Regions from separate parts of the Homo sapiens genome. Here region 1 is linked to region 2. The links are contacts of gene promoters, found by promoter capture Hi-C in blood cells and fetal thymus (Javierre and others, 2016). All regions are on one chromosome and are shown on one strand. The core of a region is centred on a gene start or on the middle of the fragment in contact, and the rest is flanking DNA. Distances in the headings are between cores, read along the strand shown. Region 1 overlaps ATG13 (autophagy related 13). Region 2 holds the start of ARFGAP2 (ARF GTPase activating protein 2).

Evidence for each region. Contacts are between HindIII fragments. The CHiCAGO score rates a contact against its expected background, and 5 or more counts as called.
Region 1: a fragment that was not itself captured here is called in contact with the fragment with the promoter of ARFGAP2 in region 2 in 1 of 17 cell types (megakaryocytes); the score reaches 5.4 in megakaryocytes.

What each region holds. Positions count from the first base shown.
Region 1 is chr11:46,652,426-46,657,040 of GRCh38, reverse strand. ATG13 (autophagy related 13) reads right to left here. Exons shown (of 19, transcript NM_001346311.2): 8 at 768-808. Among named protein-coding and RNA genes, the nearest start is that of ATG13, 37 kb to the right of the region's middle. The HindIII fragment of the contact is 2,737 bases long and covers 435-3,171 here.
Region 2 is chr11:47,173,509-47,178,491 of GRCh38, reverse strand. It overlaps ARFGAP2 (ARF GTPase activating protein 2), which reads left to right and starts at 1,613. Exons shown (of 16, transcript NM_032389.6): 1 at 1,613-1,710; 2 at 1,858-1,976; 3 at 2,569-2,641; 4 at 3,179-3,310; 5 at 3,394-3,477; 6 at 4,652-4,733. The coding sequence starts at 1,639. PACSIN3 (protein kinase C and casein kinase substrate in neurons 3) reads left to right here. Exons shown (of 11, transcript NM_016223.5): 10 at 5-126; 11 at 446-970. The coding sequence ends at 561. RefSeq lists enhancers at 486-535, 616-665, 513-1,094, 1,636-1,865 and a silencer at 1,156-1,585. The HindIII fragment of the contact is 14,588 bases long and covers 1-4,983 here.

The DNA.
Region 1 (4,615 bases), core at 554-3,053, 520 kb after region 2:
CCAGACCGTCTTTCCCTGAATTATTTGGCCTATTGTGTAATCTCTGGCATTATCCACTTAGCATGTTAAGTGCAGCAGCCTTAATTTCATATGTGTGTGTGTGTGTGTGTGTATGTGCGTGTATGTGTGTGTATATATAGGTTTCTTCCCTCTCAATGTATTCTATATTGAGCCAATATTGGCAAGGGAAACAGCACTCTATTTATAGATAAAGCTACCTTCAAAGAGATAAAATAACTGTTAGTTTTAAGGCCTGAGAAAGTTCTACTAACCAGCCCTGCAAAGGATACATCACATGCTAAAAAAGACAATGAAGGAGCACTAGAATGTCACACAAACACTTCAGTTTAAGAAGTAATTGCCTTCCACCCAAGCTGCCACTCCACGGCTAAGTAAAGAGCCAAGGCCTTGCAAGTGACACTTTCAACAAAGCTTTCCTGATTTTCTTGGTTTCATTTCCAATTTTTCAAAATTCTTGTTGTTCATCAGAAACATTTAACATCCTCACTGTAGAAAATTAGGAAAATATACAGTTTTATAAAGAGTAAGAAAGAAGACTGAGTTCCTGGAACTTTGGGAAAAATTATTTGGTTACCCTGGCAGATCAGGGGTAACCTGGACCACCTACCTGCATTCTCATCTTTTCTTTACTTGTATTATGCATATTAAGATGACAATCTACATATTATAACAAGTAGAAACGAAGATCATCTCTGAAGTTAGGAGAGCTCTGAACACTACGATGTTTTTCAACCGTTGATACATACCTTCTCCTAAGCCACTCAGCTGAACTTCTCCAAAATATATCCTGTATGGAAGAAAAAATAAGAAATGTTACCTGATTCTTTACTCCTAAGGGCCTCTATAGCCAAAACACGTAGAAACAAAATAAAACAAAGCCTTCCTTACTCATCTGCTCAAATACCTCTGCTGATGGAGCATTAGTAATTCCTACTACTTCAATTAAGCTACAGGCATGGAGACGTACAGAGTGGGTTGGTTAAAAAATAAGGAAAATAAGGCCAGGCACAGTGGCTCATGCCTGTGATCCCAGCACTTCGGGAGGATCACTTGAGGCCAGGAGTTCAAGACCAGTCTGGGCAACACAGCAAGACCCTGCATTGACAAAAAATAATTTTGCCGGGTGTGATGGTGCATGCCTGGAGTACCAGATAACTGGGAGGCTGAGGTGGGAGGATCACTTAAGCCCAGGAAGTTGACGCTGCAGTGAGCCAAGATTGCACCATTGCATTCCAGCCTGGGCAAAAGGATGAGACGCTGTCTCAAAAAAAGAAATGAGGAAAATAATAATTAAGTGGAAACTGCTATTTAAGTTTCTTCTCTCTGCTACTAAAATGTATTTTAAAATTATACCTACTGAGAAATAAAGAATATATAAATAAAAGTGGCCAACAGGTCTAGGATTGCTACTAGAAGGCACTGGTTTTGTTTTGTTTTGTTTTGTTTGAGACGGAGTCTTGCTCTGTCACCCAGGCTGCAGTGCAGTGGCATGATCTCGGCTCACTGCAACCTCCAGCCTCCTGGGTTCAAGCGATTCTCCTACCTCAGCCTCCCAAGTAGCTGGGATTACAGACGCATGCCACCACGCCCGGCTGTTTTTTTGTTTGTTTGTTTTGCTTTTTGAGACTGAGTCTCACTCTGTCGCCCTGGCTGGAGTGCAGTGGTGCAATCTCGGCTCACTGCAAGCTCCGCCTCCCAGGTTCATGCCATTCTCCTGCCTCAGCCTCCCGAGCAGCTGGACTACAGGTGTCCGCCACCGCGCCCGGCTAATTTTTTGTATTTTTAGTAGAGACGGGTTTTCGCCGTGTTAGCCAGGATGGTTTCGATCTCCTGATCTCGTGATCCGCCCGTCTCAGCCTCCCAAAGTGCTGGGATTACAGGCGTGAGCCACTGCGCCCGGACCTGTTTTTTGGTTTTTTTTGAGACAGTGTCTCGCTCTGTCGCTCAGGCTGGAGTGCAATGGCACCATCTTGGCTCACTGCAACCTCCACCTCCTGGACTCAAGCGATTCTTGTGCCTCAGCCTCCCAAATGGCTGGCACTACAGGTATGCGCTACCATGCCTGGCTAATTTTTGTATTTTTGGTAGAGACAGGGTTTCGCCACATTGCCCAGGCTGGTCTTGAACTCCTGAGCTCAAGTGATACACCCGCCGTAGCCTCCCAAAGTGCTGGGATTACAGGTGCAAGCCACCATGCCTGGCCTGTTTTTCGGGTTTTTTAAAAATAATTTTTGGTAGAGACAGGGTCTAACTATTGCCCAGGCTGGTTGCAAACTCCTGGCCTCAACTGTTTTTTTTGAGACAGGGTCTCAGTGTGTTGCCCATGCTGGAGTGCAGTGGTATGACCACTGCCCACTGCAGCCTCAACCTCCTGGGCTCAAGAGATCCTCTCACCTCAGTCTCCTAAGCAGCTGGGACTACAGGCACGTGCCACCACACCCAGCTAAGTTTTTTTATTTCTAGTATAGACAGGGTCTCGGTGTGTTGCCCAGGCTGGTATCGAACTCCTGAACTCAAGCGATCCTCCCACCTCATTCTCCCAAAGTGCTGGGATTACAGGTGTGAGCCACTGCCCCTGGTCCTGGCCTCAAATTATTCTCCCACTTCAGTCTCCCAAAGTGCTGGGATCACAGGCATGAGCCACCATACCTGACCAGAATGTACTAGAGTTTGATAAGTGGTCTTTAGTTGTGGGAAGCTCTCTTTTACATATATATATATATATATATATATATAAAATTTTAAAAATAGTAGTGATGAGGTCTTGCCATGTGACCCAGGCTGGTCTGAAACTCCGGGGCTCAAGCAATCCTCCCACCTCAGCCTCCCAAAGTGCTGGGATTACAGGTGTGAGCCAACTGTGCCTGGCCATGAAGAAATCTCTAAGTAGATGGCTTAACAAAGCAGGAAATCTTTTCCACCGTGGAATAATGAACTAGGTAAGACTATTCTGAAAAAAAAAAATAAAAACATAAACACAGTGGAACCTTCCTATGATTCTCCCTGGACAGGCCAGTCTATATTAGCAAAAAGTTTGAATTCAAAATACCTAAAATCTATTTTCATATTTTTCAAGTAATATTGTTAAAATTAAATATACACATGGGTTTATTCAATAAATACTAAGCTCCAACAATGTATGAAGAAGCTTCGCCAGGCGCGGTGGCTCACGCCTGTAATCCCAGCACTTTGGGAGTCTGAGGCGGGTGGATCATGAGGTCAGGAGATCGAGACCATCCTGGCTAACATGGTGAAACCCCGTCTCTACTAAAAATACAAAAAATTAGCCGGGCGTGGTGGCGGGTGCCTGTAGTCCCAGCTACTCGGGAGGCTGAGGCAGGAGAATGGCGTGAACCTGGGAGGCGGAGCTTGCAGTGAGCCGAGATTGTGCCATTGTACTCCAGCCTGGGCAACACAGCGAGACTCCGTCTCAAAAAACAAAAAAAAAAAAAAGAAGCTTCATGGTTAGATGTTAGGAATGAAATAAGGATAAATCTGAATCCTAGGTCTTACAGACTACAGTTTTGTATGAAAGAAAAGAAATGTAGCTGGACATGGTGGCTCACGCCTGTAATCCCAGCACTCTGGGAGGCCGAGGTGGGCGGATCAATTGAGGTCAGGAGTTCAAGACCAGCCTGGCCAGCATGGTGAAACCCCATCTCTAATTAAAATACAAAAATTAGCCAGGCGTGGTGGTGCATGCCTATTAATCCCAGCTACTTGGAAGGCTGAGGCACGACAATCACTTGAACCAAGGAGGTGGAGGTTGCAGTGAGCCAAAATCGTGCCACTGCACAGCCTAGGTGAGCAAGACTCCACCTCAAAAAAAAAAAAAAAAAGAAAAGAAATGAAATGTATGTAAATATCTGAAATACAAAGCACAAAAGTACTACAGATACGACAGACAAAAGATACTAAAAAAGCAGGGATCAGCAAACCTTTCTGTAAAGGACCAAATGGTAACTATTTTAAGATTGTGGGCCGTATAGGCTATAACAAATACTCAGCTTTCTGTTGTATTGCAAAAGTAGCCATAGACAATATGTAAACAAAGGGGATGGCTGTGTCCTAAAAAAACTTTTTTTATAAAAACAAGCAGATGGTCGGCTGACCATAGTTTAGTGACTCCTGCCATAAAGTAATATAGGAACAATGTTAATAAAGTGTTGGTAAAAGAGATCTTGCTAAGTAAATACCCTTTAAGGCCTTTAACAAGAAGCTGAGACTCAGGCAGTTCACTATTCATGTAAATACTGATACAGTGCTTAAAATTTGCTAAACTTTTTCTTGGCAATGTGTATTTTTTTGAGACAGAGTCTTGCTCTGTCACCCAGGCTGGAGTGCAGTGGTGTGATCATGGCTCACTGAAGCCTTGACCTTCTGGACCCAAGCAATCCTCCCTCAGCCTCCTGAGTAGCTGGGACTACAGATGTGAACCACCACACCTGGCTAATTTTTTACATTTTTAGTAGAGACAAGGTATCACTATGTTGCCCAGGCTGGTCTCGAACTCCTGACCTCAGGTGATCCTCCTGCCTCGGCCTCCCAAAGTGCTGGGATTATAGGCGTGAGTCACTACACCTGGTCAAGACTA
Region 2 (4,983 bases), core at 364-2,863:
CCAGCACGGGGCAGGATGAGGAGTGGTCAGATGAAGAGAGTCCCCGGAAGGCTGCCACCGGGGTTCGGGTGAGGGCACTCTATGACTACGCTGGCCAGGAAGCTGATGAGCTGAGCTTCCGAGCAGGTACCCTGGGACCCCTTTCCTAGCTTCAGCCTCTGCCTTATCTGCCTGAGCAGGGGTGTCAGAAAGGGAAGCCAAATACCCACTTCTTAAGGGCCAGTCCTCTGTCCCTTCAGCTGTTCCAGGTCCAGATAGCTGGTGCCTGGTGGCTGCATTCAGGGTCTGGGGTGGGGCAGCTTGCTGACCTTGACCTGCCTCTGCCTGAGCCATGTCTTTGCTAGCTGGGCTCTGGGACCACACCATCCCCCTCAGTCCTTGACCCAGTTGCAGGAACAGGGCCTGGGCCAGGGCCACTGGCAGTGACCAATCCCCTTTCCCCCAGGGGAGGAGCTGCTGAAGATGAGTGAGGAGGACGAGCAGGGCTGGTGCCAAGGCCAGTTGCAGAGTGGCCGCATTGGCCTGTACCCTGCCAACTACGTGGAGTGTGTGGGCGCCTGAGTGTCCTGACAGCCCTTCTGCAACGTTTACCCACCCTGGTTCAGAGCCCAGCTTCTCCTGGAGAGCCGGACCCTCAGGGCCCTGAACCGTCGCTCTCTGGCTGCTCCTCTGTCCCTTGAGGGAGGAAGTCCTGGGACCCAGGGAGGGGAGGGGCCTTTGTCTAGGGAAGGGACTGGTAGGGAAGGGACGAGTCTAGGCTGAGGGCAAGATGGGAGGTCAGAGGTGACAGAAGCGTTCAGGGGTGCCTGGGCCTCCCCAGGAGCTGTGGACTCAGTTCCTGACCTCTGCTTTGGGGTTCCTGGGGTGGGCTTGGGGTGAGTGTAGTTCTGGCCTAGCAGCACCCTCTTGTGGCTTGTTCTAGCGTGTATTAAAACTTGACACACACCCACACACAAAAACAAAAACACCACTGTCGGGCTCATGTGCATTTTTTTGATAGGACACCCTTGCCAGGCCACCAGAGGGCATCTAGAGAGAGGCCTAGCGTCTGTTATGGGGCCGGGGTTGGAAAAGGGTTTGCCTGCTTGGTACCTGCTCTGGAACTTCGAGATACTAATCTGGAGTGGAGGGGACTCGCTGTCAGGCTTGCTGTTAACCGAGAACGGCTGAAGGCTGGGCGAGACGCGGGCCAATGCGTCTGCCCGTTCGGGCCGGAGGGACGAGGAGTGTTTGGGCAGCCTAATCCTTATTCATCGATCTGTAATTAGCTGGAGTGGGGGTCCCCGCCCCCAGCCTCCCGCAGCCTGCGCGGCGTGGGGGCGACTCCACCTGGGGGTTGCGGCGTGGGAGGGGCGGGGGGAAGGGTACTACGCGCGCGAGGAGGTTTGGGCCGGTCCGCGCGCCGTCGCCCCGCCCCGGCTGCGGATTGGCCCGGCGCGGCGTTGATTCTTGCGGCCGCGGTTGTCGTCGCCGCCCCCGTCCCGCCGGCTGCCCATTGGTCCAGATCGGACTCCAATCACCCCACCCCTCGGCTGGCCCAGGCACCGCTGAGGCCGGCCTGGTGAGCCCGCCCTCCCCGCCGTGGATTGGCCCGCGGCGGGACCCGTCAGCCGCGGTTGTGTCTGGGAAGGAGAGAAAATGGCGGCGGAGCCGAACAAGACCGAAATCCAGACTCTTTTTAAGAGGCTTCGCGCAGTTCCAACCAACAAGGTGCGTGAGCAGGGGGCGCGCGGAGTCTCTCGTCCCGCTGGGGCCTGAGGGAGGGAGAAGGGCGGAGGTGGGTTATGTTTCTGGGGTGTCGGTGCCTGGCCTTTACTCGGGGCCCCTGACGATTCGCTCATCGCCGCCTCCACCCAGGCCTGTTTCGACTGCGGCGCCAAGAATCCGAGTTGGGCCAGCATCACGTACGGTGTTTTCTTGTGCATTGACTGTTCCGGGGTGCACCGCTCCCTGGGCGTCCATCTGAGCTTCATCAGGTAGGCTCTCCGCGCGGTTGCCGTGTTTCCACCCGGCCGGCCAGGGGTGTCTGGGCAACAAGGGAGAGTGGCTGCCTCGACTTGGGCCGCTCTGAATTCGGTGGGAAGCCTCTGGGCCGAGAGGGTCCGGTAGCCTCCTGCCAGAGGGAACCACCTGTGTGGGCCCTTTGGCACATGGGCGGTCCGTCTCCGCCTCTGGGCCAAAACTTCCTCTTTTTTGACGGTCAGGCTTGAGACTCTGAGCGTTAGTTGAGGGGAAAGGGAGGCATTGACCTTGTTGTTGCTGATATGTTGTTAGACCAGTATGTCTCTAGTGAGACTGTGACCATCCATTAGGGGAAAGCCAAATCCAGGCGTGCGTGCCTGAGAATGTGACCTCCTTTCGGATCTGGGGACATAATTAGTACTCTTTGGAGTAAATGAACGAAGAGGAGAGTTTTCATGGACAGGGTAGTGTGGAGGAAATGGGGTGATGGCTGATTAATGTTTCCTGGGTGCCTACAGCAGCCTGAGGCCAAGTGACAGGTATCCGGGTTGCCAGGGAAATCCTGCTGGTATCTGCTAGTGGGTGAGACGCAGCCCTTGTACACAGGTCCACAGAGTTGGATTCCAACTGGAACTGGTTCCAGCTGAGGTGTATGCAGGTCGGCGGGAATGCCAATGCGGTAAAGCTCCTTCTACTTCCCTCACCTTCCATTCTTCTGCCTGGTTACTAACTTTGCACGACTCCCTAAGAGGCCCTGTCGTTTTCCCTGTTCAGAGGGTTCTCTGTTCTATAACACCACCATAAGCTATTTTCTGAAAACTTCGAAACTGGTCACAGCTTCTCTTAAATGGGTTTCAGATTCCAATTAAACTGGGCAGGTGTTCTTGGGGAAAAGCCACAGGAGTTGGGAGCCTTCACAGTCATTGGGTCTTGTGGGCCTGCCCTGGATGAAGGATGGGGAGGCTGGGTATGGGATGTTGTGCTCAGGCAGCGTTCAGTGGGGCCTGGACTTCAGTCATATCAGAGGATGGCCCGCTGCAAGGTGTTTTTTGCAGGAATTTCGAGAAACTTTATCTCTGAAAAACCGGTGTCAGTAGCGTGTATCATCCTGTATAGATAATAACTTCGCTGTCATAAGGAGATGTCTCCTACAGCCAACACGTTTCCTTCTTGAGAATCACCCGTAGCACGCGCTGCTCTCTTCTTTGCTCTCCAGACGGCTTTTTTTCGCCAACATGGATGCACAGCCAATGATGCCAACACCAAATATAATAGCCGAGCTGCCCAGATGTACCGGGAGAAGATCCGGCAGCTGGGGAGTGCGGCCCTGGCTAGGCATGGCACTGATGTAAGTGCCTGTTCTTGGGGCTGGGGCAGGAGGGTTAGGAGTATTCAGAGCCCTGTGTTTTAGGGGTGTCTTCTCCTTTCTAGCTTTGGATAGACAACATGAGTAGTGCCGTTCCTAATCACTCCCCAGAGAAGAAGGACTCTGATTTCTTCACAGAACACACTCAAGTGAGTGCCCACAAGGAACCGTTTTCCCAGTTGTTCTTGACAGGCAATTTACCAAGGCCCAGGCCTTCTGTGATCATGGTTGTAGATTCCATTTGCTTTGATGTGATGTCTTGGACACCACGTATGAAGTCCACTGTTCCTGCTGGGTAGGCCTAGGTGTTTCCTCCTCCATAAATGGAGGTGCAGTGTAGCCCTCCTTAGAAATCGACTCCTATAAATTGGGCTGGCGGGGAAGAGAGGCAGCTTCTTGAAGTTTCAAGAGGTGTCCGGTGCCCCAAACAAATTTTCCTGGATTCTTCCCCTATAAGAAAGGCACTGTGGGCCGGGCGCAGTGGCTCACGCCTGTAATCCCAGCACTTTGGGAGGCCGAGGCGGGTGGATCATGAGGTCAGGAGATCGAGACCATCCTGGCTAACAAGGTGAAACCCCGTCTCTACTAAAAATACAAAAAATTAGCCGGGCGCGGTGGCGGGCGCCTGTAGTCCCAGCTACTTGGGAGGCTGAGGCAGGAGAATGGCGTGAACCCGGGAAGCGGAGCTTGCAGTGAGCCGAGATTGCGCCACTGCAGTCCGCAGTCCGGCCTGGGCGACAGAGCGAGACTCCGTCTCAAAAAAAAAAAAAAAAAAAAAAAAAAAAAAAAAAAAAAAGGCACTGTGCTTGGGGACAGTGAAAGGATTCTCTCCTCCCCGCCCCACCCCTTTGAGGAGGGTTTCCTCTTTACTGGCCCTGGGTGCTGAAGTTAGACTCTTGGCTTCAATTCCTGTTCTCTACTCCGCATTCCTGTGATGGTGGCCAAGTCACTCAACCTGTCAAAACCTCAGTTTCTAAAATGGCGATGTAGCTCCTTCATAGGGGTTGTAGTGATAATTAAATATATTCATATATGAGGAGCCTTTAGATCTGTGCCTGCCTAGGTGGTGGTAGTTAACTGTCTTTAAGTTAGGAGAATGGGCTCTGGCTCTAAGTAAATAGTGAAGGGGTTGGGGTGGGGGCTGCTTGTCTTCCTGCTTTCTTCCACAGTGAATAGCAACTGTGATCTTGTTTGCTACCCTCCAGTCCCTTTCCTCATGGGTTTGGAGTATGATTTCTTGTCCACAAGGTGCTTGTAGGTCTTGGTGCTTCTTGCCAGCAGGAGTGGCTCACCGAGGCATCTGTGATCTGGCCTCCTTTTCAGCCCCCTGCCTGGGATGCGCCAGCCACTGAGCCTTCAGGGACCCAGCAGCCAGCCCCGTCTACAGAGAGCAGTGGCCTGGCACGTGAGTTCAGCCCAGATTCCAACCAGGTGCCCTGGTCCTAGGAGAGGACTCAGGGTTTGGAAGGGGACATCTGGCCATGACAATAGGAGCAGGGGTCCTCCTGTATCTTTGGGTGGGCCGGGATTCATTTTAATCCTTGGAGGAAGTGGTAGATATTCCTTTTATCTTTTGGTGGCAAGCTGAGGAAAGCCACCGATTCTTGTCCCATCACTTCTTTCAAGGGGAGGTTGCAGGAAGCTAGGAGCTCATC